Regions from separate parts of the Homo sapiens genome. Here region 1 is linked to region 2. Evidence: promoter capture Hi-C in 16 types of primary human blood cells and fetal thymus (Javierre and others, 2016). All regions are on one chromosome and are shown on one strand. The core of a region is centred on a gene start or on the middle of the fragment in contact, and the rest is flanking DNA. Distances in the headings are between cores, read along the strand shown.

Region 1 (4,936 bases), core at 843-3,342, 390 kb after region 2:
TAAAAATAAAAATAATCCCTTTTTTTTTTTTAACTATGCAAGTCTCATTACATTTAAAACCCTTTTTTAAACTTGGTCCCTTTTCTGTGCCAACTTTATGTTTGTTTTTGTTCTTGTTTTTGTTTGAGATGGAGTCTCGCTCTGTTGCCCAGGCTGGAGTGCGGTGGCGCGATCTCAGCTCACTCCAACCTCTGCCTCCTGGGTTCAAGTGATTCTCCTGCCTTAGCCTCCTGAGTAGCTGGGATTACAGGCGTGCACCACCACGCCTGGATAATTTTTTTTGTAATTTTAGTAGAGATGGGGTTTCACCATATTGGTCTGAAACTCCTGACCTCGTGATCTGCCCGCCTTGGCCTCCCAAAGTGCTGGCATTACAGGTATGAGCCACTGTGCCTGGCCCCTATTTTTTATTTTCTGAGATGAAGTCTCGCTCTGTTGCCCAGGCTGGAGCGCACTAGCATGATCTCAGCTCAATGCAACCTCCGCCTCCAAGGTTAAAGCAATTCTTCTGCCTCAGCCTCTAAGTAGCTGGGATCACAGGTGCCTGGAACGTGCCTGGCTAATTTTTCTATTTTTAGTAGAGATGGTTTTGCCATGTTGGCCAGGCTGGTCTCAAACTCCTGACCTCAGGTGATCTGTCTGCCTCGGCCTCCCAAAGTGTTAGGATTACAGGCGTGAGCCATTGTACCCGGCCGAGTTACATAATTTGAATACATTGTTATTAATCTGCAATAATCTGTAAGGTATTATCTCCATTTTACAGATGAGAATGTGAAGAAAATGACTTGTTCAAGGCCCTCATTGCAATAACCAGAGCTAAGTTTGCAACCACGTCTCTTAGACTCCAAGGCCCACACACTTTTTACTTTATGACACTGCCTCCCTAAATGCTAAAGATTAAAAACTCTGGTAGGATGAATTTTTACATCTCTGTCAGCAGTGGGATTAGAATCCATGCCTGTGAAGAGATGGGACCGTAACTCAGCACCTAAATGGATTATTTTTTGTATTAAAAATTTCATAATTCCCTTTCTCAGGGAAATCTGTAAAGATAAAATATTAAAGATAAAGATCTGTAAAGATAAAAAATATTAAATCCTACAGGCAAGCCTGAGGGCAGCACTAATGTGTTAATGGCTTAAAAAATGATTCCAATGTTTGCATGCCCTCAGGCCTGGGGCGTTTATTAGTGCAGGCCAAAGGGCTCTTGGGATTTCTTTTGCCTTGATGAGATACGGCAGAAACAACCTGGGGGTTTGAAGAGTGGGGCTGCAAAAAGGATTTCTGCAACTCCAATGCAAAATGATAGTCCATGTGTTCTGGCATATCCCATACCGGTACCAGGGAGCCACACTTCTCACAGGGCACTTGGTCCTCAGCAGCTAGAAGACTTGGATTTGGGGTTGCTTTCTGAGTCACCTCCAGCACAGATTTGGAAGCTGAAGAGGCGTGCATGCTTTGGCTGTTGTGGGCCAAATCCATCTCTGCAGGAGTTGCTTTAGAGGATTCTTCTAGCTTCGACACCCCTTCACAAACAGGGACACACCCTGGATACTCTGTTGGTAAAGAGTTTGGTAATGCTTTACAGTTGGACCATGGGTTTTGTTGGGGGGAAGAAACTGAAGAATTATTAAGCTGTTTCTGCTTTAGAAGCAGACTTTTCTGCTTAAAGAAGGGCTCAGTTCCTGTACTTTGACTGGTTTGAAAAGGTAATGAGGGCTTGGATGGTGAATTGCTCATGGGAGCCTGAGTGGGAGCAGTAAGAGATGAAAGCGAAGCTTCTTTAACTTTCTGCCTTTCTGCAGCTTTTTGGAAGAATGATTCCAGAGACGTGGTTGCTTTCTTAGTGGCTGTCACCGCTGGGCCACTTCCCTGGGTCTTAGCTTCTGAGCTGGTAACTGGCACCTTTGGCAGAGAACTTGGGTCACTGCTCAAGAAGCTGGTGATGTCTGTAGAAGATGAAGGGGCAGAGGCAGAAAATTTTGTAGCACAGAGGAAAAGCATTGTGAGAGGAGGAGACCTATACAGAAAGTAAAGAAATAAGATGATTAGCAATTTAGAAGATTAAAATAGTGACCTATTGCTAATTCCATGAATTGTATCTGTTTTATTTCACCATAGGACAGATTTAATCCATAGATGACTAGCATTCTGGTTCTGCCACAGAAATTATTCTTTACTGCAGTGGTTCTCAAACGTTAATGTGTATCAGAGATTAACAGACCTGGGATGACAGAGAATTTAATTTCCTAGGTGATGCTGATGTTATGTCTTGAGAACCACTAATTTAGCAACCACTCACCTCCCGACAGCTAGAGATTATTGTTTTTTATAAGGTACCACTGGAAAGCTGCTGTAATTCAGGGTTGGGGCAAGAAATTTTATTCAGGACAACAAAAAGCTTTAGAATATTTAGACTAGAAAGACTTGAAAAAATCCTCTTAGCCATTATCCTGTTTTTAAACAGGGCACTACCTAACCCTGACTGACTTACCACTCTGGAATTTCTAGAGAATGAAATTCCACAACTGCTTTTCGTTACTAGTCCCAATTTCAGAAACATTTTAAGAAATTCTTGTGATAGCCGGGAGCGGTGGCTCACACCTGTAATCCCAGCACTTTGGGAGGCTAAGGCGGGTGGGTCATGAGGTCAGGAGTATGAGACCAGCCTGACCAACATGGTGAAACCCCATCTCTACTAAAATACAAAAATTAGCTGGGTGTGGTGACACACGCCTGTAACCCAGCTACTTGGGAGGCTGAGGCAGAAGAATTGCTTGAACCCGGGAGGCAGAGGTTGCAGTGAGCGGAGATTGCGCCACTGCACTCCAGCCTGGGTGACAGAGCCAGACTCCCTCTCAAAAAAAAAAAAAAAAAAATCAGAAATTTTTGTCATAAAGTTCCTCATTGTGTCTAATCACTCAAATTTTCACATAAGCTGAATTTCAGAAGATGAAATATGCTTTTATGTACAGATTAGTCCTTCAATGAGGTAAAGGGTAAATGTCATTTTAAAGTTATTATTACACTATTGGCCGGGTGCAGTGGCTCACGCCTGTAATCCCAGCACTTTGGGAGGCCGAGGTGGGTGAAACACCTGAGGTCAGGAATTTGAGACCAGCCTGGCCAACATGGAGAAACCCTGTCTCTACTAAAAGTACAAAATTTAGCCGGGCGTGGTGGCGGGCACCTGTAATCCCAGCTACTCAGGAGGCTGAGGCAGGAGAATCGCTTGAACCCGGGAGGCAGAGGTTGCAGTGAGCCGAGATTGCGTCACTGCACTCCAGCCTAGACAACAAGAGCGAGATTCCGTCTCAAAAAAAAAAAAAAAAAGTATCCCAATATCCTCAGGTTTCATGCTTTGGGACAGTCTTATAATCAGATAATTTTGATGCTTCCCTGTGCATCACGGAGTTTCACACCGTTGGTGAGTAGTATTTGTTATAGTTTGTCAATTTATAACTTTTCAAATAAGGTTTCATGTGTACATTAGTACCACGGTTGTTATTTGGTTTTGTAAAACTTCAATATTTGAAAATAAATATATCAGGAAGTATTAAGTAAATTATTCTCAGAACAAAGACTTTATTTATTTATTTATTTATTTGTTGTTGTTGTTGTTGGAGACGGAATTTCGCTCTTGTTGCCCAGGCTGGAGTGCAATGGCGCAATCTCGGCTCACCGCAACCTCCACCTCCCAGGTTCAAGCAATTCTCCTGCCTCAGCCTCCCAAGTAGCTGGGATTATAGGCATCCACCACCATGCCTGGCTAATTTTTGTATTTTTAGTAGAGACAGGGTTTCACCATGTTGGCTGGGGTGCTCTTGAACTCCTGACCTCAGGTGATCTGCCTGCCTCGGCCTCCGAAAGTGCTGGGATTACAGCCGTGAGCCACCGCGCCCGGCCCTATGAACAAAGACTAGGAGACTCCACCATATTATAGGTCTGTACACATAATTATACTGCCAATATATTTAGATAAGTAATAAGCGATTAACTAAACTTTGATTTTATTTTGTATAATATTCAATATACATCTGTAAGTGAGCAACTGACTTACCTCTCTCTCATAATTATATTTCTATTGTGAATTTGGAATACTTTAAAAAAAGTAAGGGCTTTATTAAATATGCAATTAAAGGATTCCAATCCTGAAAATCATTAATATCTGGACAGAAAATGAAGATGCTCCAAAAAGAGGCTTATATTTCATGACCAACAGAAGTGAAGTTTACTAATGAATATGACATTTGGTATAATACCAGTGGAGCTTGTAACTGAGTTGGGATGTCAGATAGAGAATATCAGTGAACACAGGTCACCTTTATAATCAAGAAATATGCTTTTAAGATAGAACAATCAAGTAGTTTGAAGTTCCCAAATGTATCCTTGAAATTTGAGCTCTGTTCTCCAAGTGCAACTGGTCATTTCCCTGACCAAGCCAATACAGAGTAAGGGTCTAACCTCCTGGGAACTGGAATGTATCAGCTGTCGGCAAAGGATCTGTGCTGAGCTGTCTTGTTTCTGAGGTTGGTACTGTATTTTCTCCCAGAGTAACAGGTACTGGTAGTCTGAGTCAGAGTCTATCCCAGATGGAAGAGCTCAGATTCCTACTACTTGTAGAGCTAAGACAGAGATTCCTACTACTTGTAGAACTGAGACAGACCTCAGGTGATTCACCCACCTTGGCCTCCCAAAGTGCTGGGATTACAGGCGTGAGCCACTGCGCCCGGCCGATACTTTAATAATAACTTTAAAATGACATTTACCCTTTACCTCATTGAAGGACTAATCTGTACATAAAAGCATATTTCATCTTCTGAAATTCAGCTCATGTGAAAATTTGAGTGATTAGACACAATGAGGAACTTTATGATAAAAATTATGTCTTGTAGAGCTAAGACAGAGCTAAGAATCATCATCTATTCTGAGAAGA
Region 2 (5,126 bases), core at 1,597-4,096:
TCCTCCCACTGAAGGCTAACTTTCCAATAGACCTCACTGTTTCTGTCAACGAAATAGGTCCCTGGCCCCTCCCCACTCTCCCAGTCTCTTCCAGCAGAGACCTTCCAGGACTGTAGGTTTAGGGGAGTGGAAGGGCCGGCTTCGGTCTCCCCAAGTTCTGCCCCCAGTGAGGCCTCATAGCTCTCCTGGGACTGAGGGGCAGTCCCAGAGGGCGGCAGGAGTTGGCAGCCAGTGGTCCTGGGGACCGCGAGGTGGGTGGGTGGAGGGTGGCGAAGGGAGGGTTCCGGGACCGGGGAGCGGCGTCTTAATTACGGCGCGTTGGCCCAGCGCCGCGGAGCGCCGCGGATGACAGCGGCGGTGGGTAATTAGAGCGCATTAGCCGTGCCCCTGCAATCCTGTAATTTCTTCTCGCGCTCGGGGTGTGTTGTAGGAGGCGAAGCGATGCCGGCTTGGCTGAGTCAGACTCTCGGAAGCCCAGGAGGGGACGCAGGGGGCGGCAGAGGCCGCGAAGAAGGGACTCCCGCCGGGGGAGGCGCAGACGCAGTCCTCTAGGAGTCACCTGTCCCGGGCTCCTCGGCGCGCGCGCCCCGTCGGCGGCGGGAGGTGGTGGGAAGGGGGCGTGACCTGCGTCTCCTCCCGCCGCCGCCGCCGCCGCCGCCGCCGCGCGCTCTACCGGCCCGCGAGTCCTCCGCGACATCCGGGCCAGCGTCTGCACCCAGCCACGTGTCCTGCCCCTGGTGCGCAGGTGGACTGGAAAAGAGGAAGGCAAACGCAGTGGCTAGGCGGAGACCTCCCAAATCCCACGTCTCCCCGAGAATCCCCGACGGGCTACAGACCTAGGGCAGCCATAAGAAAAAACGTCAGCTACATCTCGAGGGAGTGGGGTGGAGTGCGGGCGCTTGCTCTAGTCGAGCCCTGACATCGATTCTGCGGGGGCGGGGAGGAGTCGGCGCGGGGCTGGGGCTGGGAGGGGAGTTTATTTATTAGCCAGATTAGCCAGCATTAATGGGGGAGCGGTGGCGGCCGGCGGCAGCAGGGACATAGCTGGCATAGCTGGCATAGCGGCGGGGCCTCCTGCGGCGCGGGGCTCCGCGGCTTCAAAGGGGCTTAAAGAGGCCCTTGGTGGCACTGCCACGGCCCCGCGGGGGAGGGCGTGGGCGCGGGCGGCGGGGGAGAAGGCGGCCATTGTGCACCGAGGGATTAGGGCTCTGGCCTGGAAGGAATTTTAAACTGCCGCGAGCCGGAGCCCCAGGACTCTCCTCCTGCCCCACCCCTGCCCTCCGGAGCACGCTGAGGTGTTTACCTGCTTTCCTATGTCTGGGGTGGAGGGGGTGTCCTCTCTCCTCCCTCAAACTGGAGGCACCTAGGGTTACCAGATCTGGCAAATAAAAACACAAGACTTCCAGTTAAACTGGATACTTTAAATAGTGTAAGTCTGTCCCAAATATTGTATGGGACAGACTTATGCTAAAATATTATTCGTTGTTTATCTGATATTCAATTTAATTGGACGTCTTGTATTTTTTTTCCTGGCAGCCCTTGAGGCATTGAAATCTCTAATCCATGTCTGGAAACAGATTGATGGTTCCCGAAAGTCCAGTGGGTATGCCTCATTTGAGAGATCCCTAAGGGCAGGGTCGTGTCTCTCCCCTTACACTGGGAGTTTCCTGAAGCCCAGATACTGAGTTTCACCCTAAAGAAGGCAGCTCTGAGAGCACTATATGTGTCCCCCGTCAGACTGGGAGCTTCCTGAGGACAGGGGCTAAATTTCACCCATGAGAGTAACGCTTCAAGGTCAGTGTCTGTGACCTGTGACACTGGGGTTTCCTGAGGCATGGTCTGTCCGCTTCCTAGAGGGCAAGTCTCTCTCCTCCCTCACGTCTCACTCTCCCACCCCCACCCCACCCCAGGCTGCTGGAGGCTCCTCCTCCATTAGTGTTGCTTCCTGCCCATAGGGGGTGCTAGGGGCCCAGCGGACTGGCCTACGGATGGATGGGACCTGTTTATTGGGACTCGGGGCTTCAGTCCTTCGGGGTTGATGCACTTGAGAATAATGAGGGTGGGGTCCCCAACCTGTGAGGCTTGCTGAGGCAGTTGAGGGCCAGGTCTACTGGGGCCAGAGGCGGTGGCCAGCATGTGGGAGAAGCTCTGGGTGCTGGGTACCCACTGTTTCTTCCAGGAAGGGACAGTGTGGCCCTTGGTACAGAACATCCTGCCCACCTCCTCTCATAACCATTGAAGCCAAGCCCCAGTCCTCCACCAGCCTCTCCAGACCCCACTGCCTAACCTTTGCTTGTGCTGTTCTTTCTGCCAGAAACACTCTGTCTTCCTGCTTTGAGGACAGCTGAAGTCTTGCCACTTCTTCTGGATGCTCTGACCATCAGTAAGGTGGGCTGCTTGTGCCTGGGGGTCTTCTGGTGAAAAGAGCCCTCCATCTACTCCCTCCTTCCTCAACAACTTTGGCCACAGGGGCCAAAGAGGGGGCCAAGGTGGGGGAGGGGAGAGACAGGAACATTGGGGGAGCATAGGCAGAAGGGGAGTAAGAATAGGAACCTCCTTCCCCCCAACCCATCCCCCTGAAGCCCCTTCACAAGTCCCTTCATCCCCTCAGGGCCTCTGAACTCTTTCTCCTTGAAGCTGAGGGAAGCCCTGGAGAAGCGCTTTCCCACGGTCACAGCCTCAACAAACCCCTGCCCCCTTCTCCTTTGACTGCAGCCACCTCAGTCTCACCCTCCGCAGAATGCAGGCCCACTCCGTTGCTGAAGGGCCTCCTCCTTGGGCCAGGGCGCCTGCTTCTGCCAGTGGCATCATCACCCCACTCCTCAGCCGCCAGTCATCAGGTTGGCAATTAGCTACTTCCTCTCAGCTGCATGAGGCCACCAAACGTCACAGCCCCTCCCCTGGCCTGCCGCGGCGGGAGTGCTGGGGGCTGCCCCTACCCTTTGTAGTCAGTGCCAAGTCCTGGCTCAGTCCCCCTTCCCTACAACCTACTGAGTGCTAGGGTAATGAGCCTCCCATCTAGGGAGCTGAAAGCCTCGCTGCCTTCTCCCCGCTTCAAACCTCCTCCCCCATGTCACCCTATCCCATTGGGTGAGGACACTCCCGCTGCCTGGGTGGGGTGATGCCTGCTCAAGGGCACTAGCAGCCTGGGTGGGGCTTAAGACTCAGGTGTCTCTGTCCCCAGTCACAGGCGGTTTTCACCAGCCCCTTACCTGGGGCCCAGGAGTCTGAACTGAAGATGGTGGCAGTTATTTGGGAAGGGGAGAGAAATGGGGACTCATTCTACAGACCCCCAAACATGCAGGGGGCAGGCCCTTCATGAACACCCACATGGGCTCATTTGCCTGTGTCTAGGCACACACACGGTTACAATCTAGGCAATGTATGCTCCACTGCACTGTACCCACATGTGCCCCAGGTGGGCAAGTAAGCCCACTTGCCCAGATACCTCTCATGCCCACACATCCCTCCTCCAGGTGTGTGCATGCAAACTCACTGACATACAGTACTCAAAAAGGCAGTGAGCTTGCTGCCACACCAAAAACAAAACCGGGACCCTACAGAGGAATCTAGAAGCATGGGAGGGAAGGAGAGACCACCCCAACACTCGCTACCCCACAGACCAGGGAATCTTCCTGGGGAAGGATGGGAGGAAGTCTGCACTTCAGGGATATGTGTGGGGTACGCAGGTGGGCCGTGGTGGAAGCAGTTGTGTTGGAGTCTGGGTTGGGGGTGGAGGATGTGGATTTCCAGAGAGAATTGAAAAATTCCAACACATATAAACAAAGGCATGTGATCTTAGGCAGATCACTTAACTTCTTGGGGGCCCCAGTGACTGCATCTGTAAAATGGGAATAATGAGAACACCATTTAAACTTGGTTGTCAAATTTATTTTATTTTTATTTATTTATTTATTTTTAGAGACACGGTCTGACTTTGTTACCCCGGCTGGAGTGCAGTGGTGCAATCATGGCTCACTGCAGCCTTAACCTCCTGGGCTCAAGTGATCCTCTCGCCAAGGCTAGGATAAGTAGCTAGGACTACAGATGCGCCCCATCACGCCCAGCTAATTTTACAACTTCTGTAGAGATGGAGTGTTGCTGGGTTGCCCAGGCTGGTCTTGAATTCCTGGGCTCAAGCGATCCTCCTGTGTCCGGAATTGGTGGGTTCTTGGTCTCACTGACTTCAAGAATGAAGCCGCGGACCCTCGCGGTGAGTGTTACAGTTCTTAAAGACAGCGTGTCCAGAGTTTGTTCCTTCTGATGTTCAGATGTGTTCAGAGTTTCTTCCTTCTGGTGGGTTCGTGGTCTCGCTGGCTTAGGGGTGAAGCTGCAGACCTTCGCGGTGAGTGTTACAGTTCTTAGGGCGGCGCGTCTGGAGTTGTCTGTTCCTCCCGGTGGGCTCGTAGTCTCGCTGGCTTCAGGAGTGAAGCTGCAGACCTTCGCGGTGAGTGTTACAGCTCATAAAGGCAGCGTGGACCTACAGAGTGAGCAGTAGCAAGATTTATTGCAAAGAGCAAAAGAACAAAGCTTCCACAGCGTGGAAAGGGATCCCAGCGGGTTGCCACTGCGGGCTGGGGCAGCCTGCTTTTATTCTCTTATCTGGCCCCACCCACATCCTGCTGATTGGTAGAGCCCAGTGGTCTGTTTTGACAGGGTGCTGATTGGTGCGTTTACAATCCGAGCTAGACACAAAGGTTCACCATGTCCCCACTAGATTAGCTAGATACAGAGTGTTGACACAAAGGTTCTCCAAGTCCCCACCAGAGTAGCTAGATACAGTGTCGATTGGTGCATTCACAGTGCTGATTGGTGTGTTTACAAACCTTGAGCTAGATACAGAGTGCCAATTGGTGTATTTACAATCCCTGAGCTAGACATAAAGGTTCTCCACGTCCCCACCAGACTCAGGAGCCCAGCTGGCTACACCCAGTGGATCCTGCACCAGGGCTGCAGGTGGAGCTGCCTGCCAGTCCGGCGCTGTGCGCCCGCACTCCTCAGCCCTTGGGTGGTGGATGGGACTGGGCGCCATGGAGCAGGGGGTGGCGCTCGTCGGGGAGGCTCTGGCCGCACAGGAGCCCACGGAGCCAGGAGGAGTCTCAGGCATGGCAGGCTGCAGGTCCCGA

The links. Contacts are between HindIII fragments. The CHiCAGO score rates a contact against its expected background, and 5 or more counts as called.
Region 1: a contact is called between a fragment that was not itself captured here and the fragment with the promoter of LINC03040 in region 2, in 1 of 17 cell types (erythroblasts). The highest score is 6.3, in erythroblasts.

What each region holds. Positions count from the first base shown.
Region 1 is chr6:43,610,744-43,615,679 of GRCh38, reverse strand. POLH (DNA polymerase eta) reads right to left here. Exons shown (of 11, transcript NM_006502.3): 11 at 1-2,020. The coding sequence ends at 1,123. Among named protein-coding and RNA genes, the nearest start is that of GTPBP2, 16 kb to the left of the region's middle. RefSeq lists a silencer at 3,494-3,719. The HindIII fragment of the contact is 623 bases long and covers 1,781-2,403 here.
Region 2 is chr6:43,998,305-44,003,430 of GRCh38, reverse strand. LINC03040 (long intergenic non-protein coding RNA 3040) reads right to left here and starts at 2,846. Exons shown (of 3, transcript NR_160956.1): 1 at 2,731-2,846; 2 at 1,304-1,378; 3 at 1-750. It overlaps SCIRT (stem cell inhibitory RNA transcript), which reads left to right. Exons shown (of 5, transcript NR_125864.1): 2 at 2,315-2,388; 3 at 2,716-2,840; 4 at 3,923-4,213. It overlaps LOC124901321 (a long non-coding RNA gene), which reads right to left. Exons shown (of 2, transcript XR_007059591.1): 2 at 3,877-4,480. RefSeq lists a silencer at 498-667 and an enhancer at 2,590-2,739. The HindIII fragment of the contact is 11,725 bases long and covers 1-4,532 here.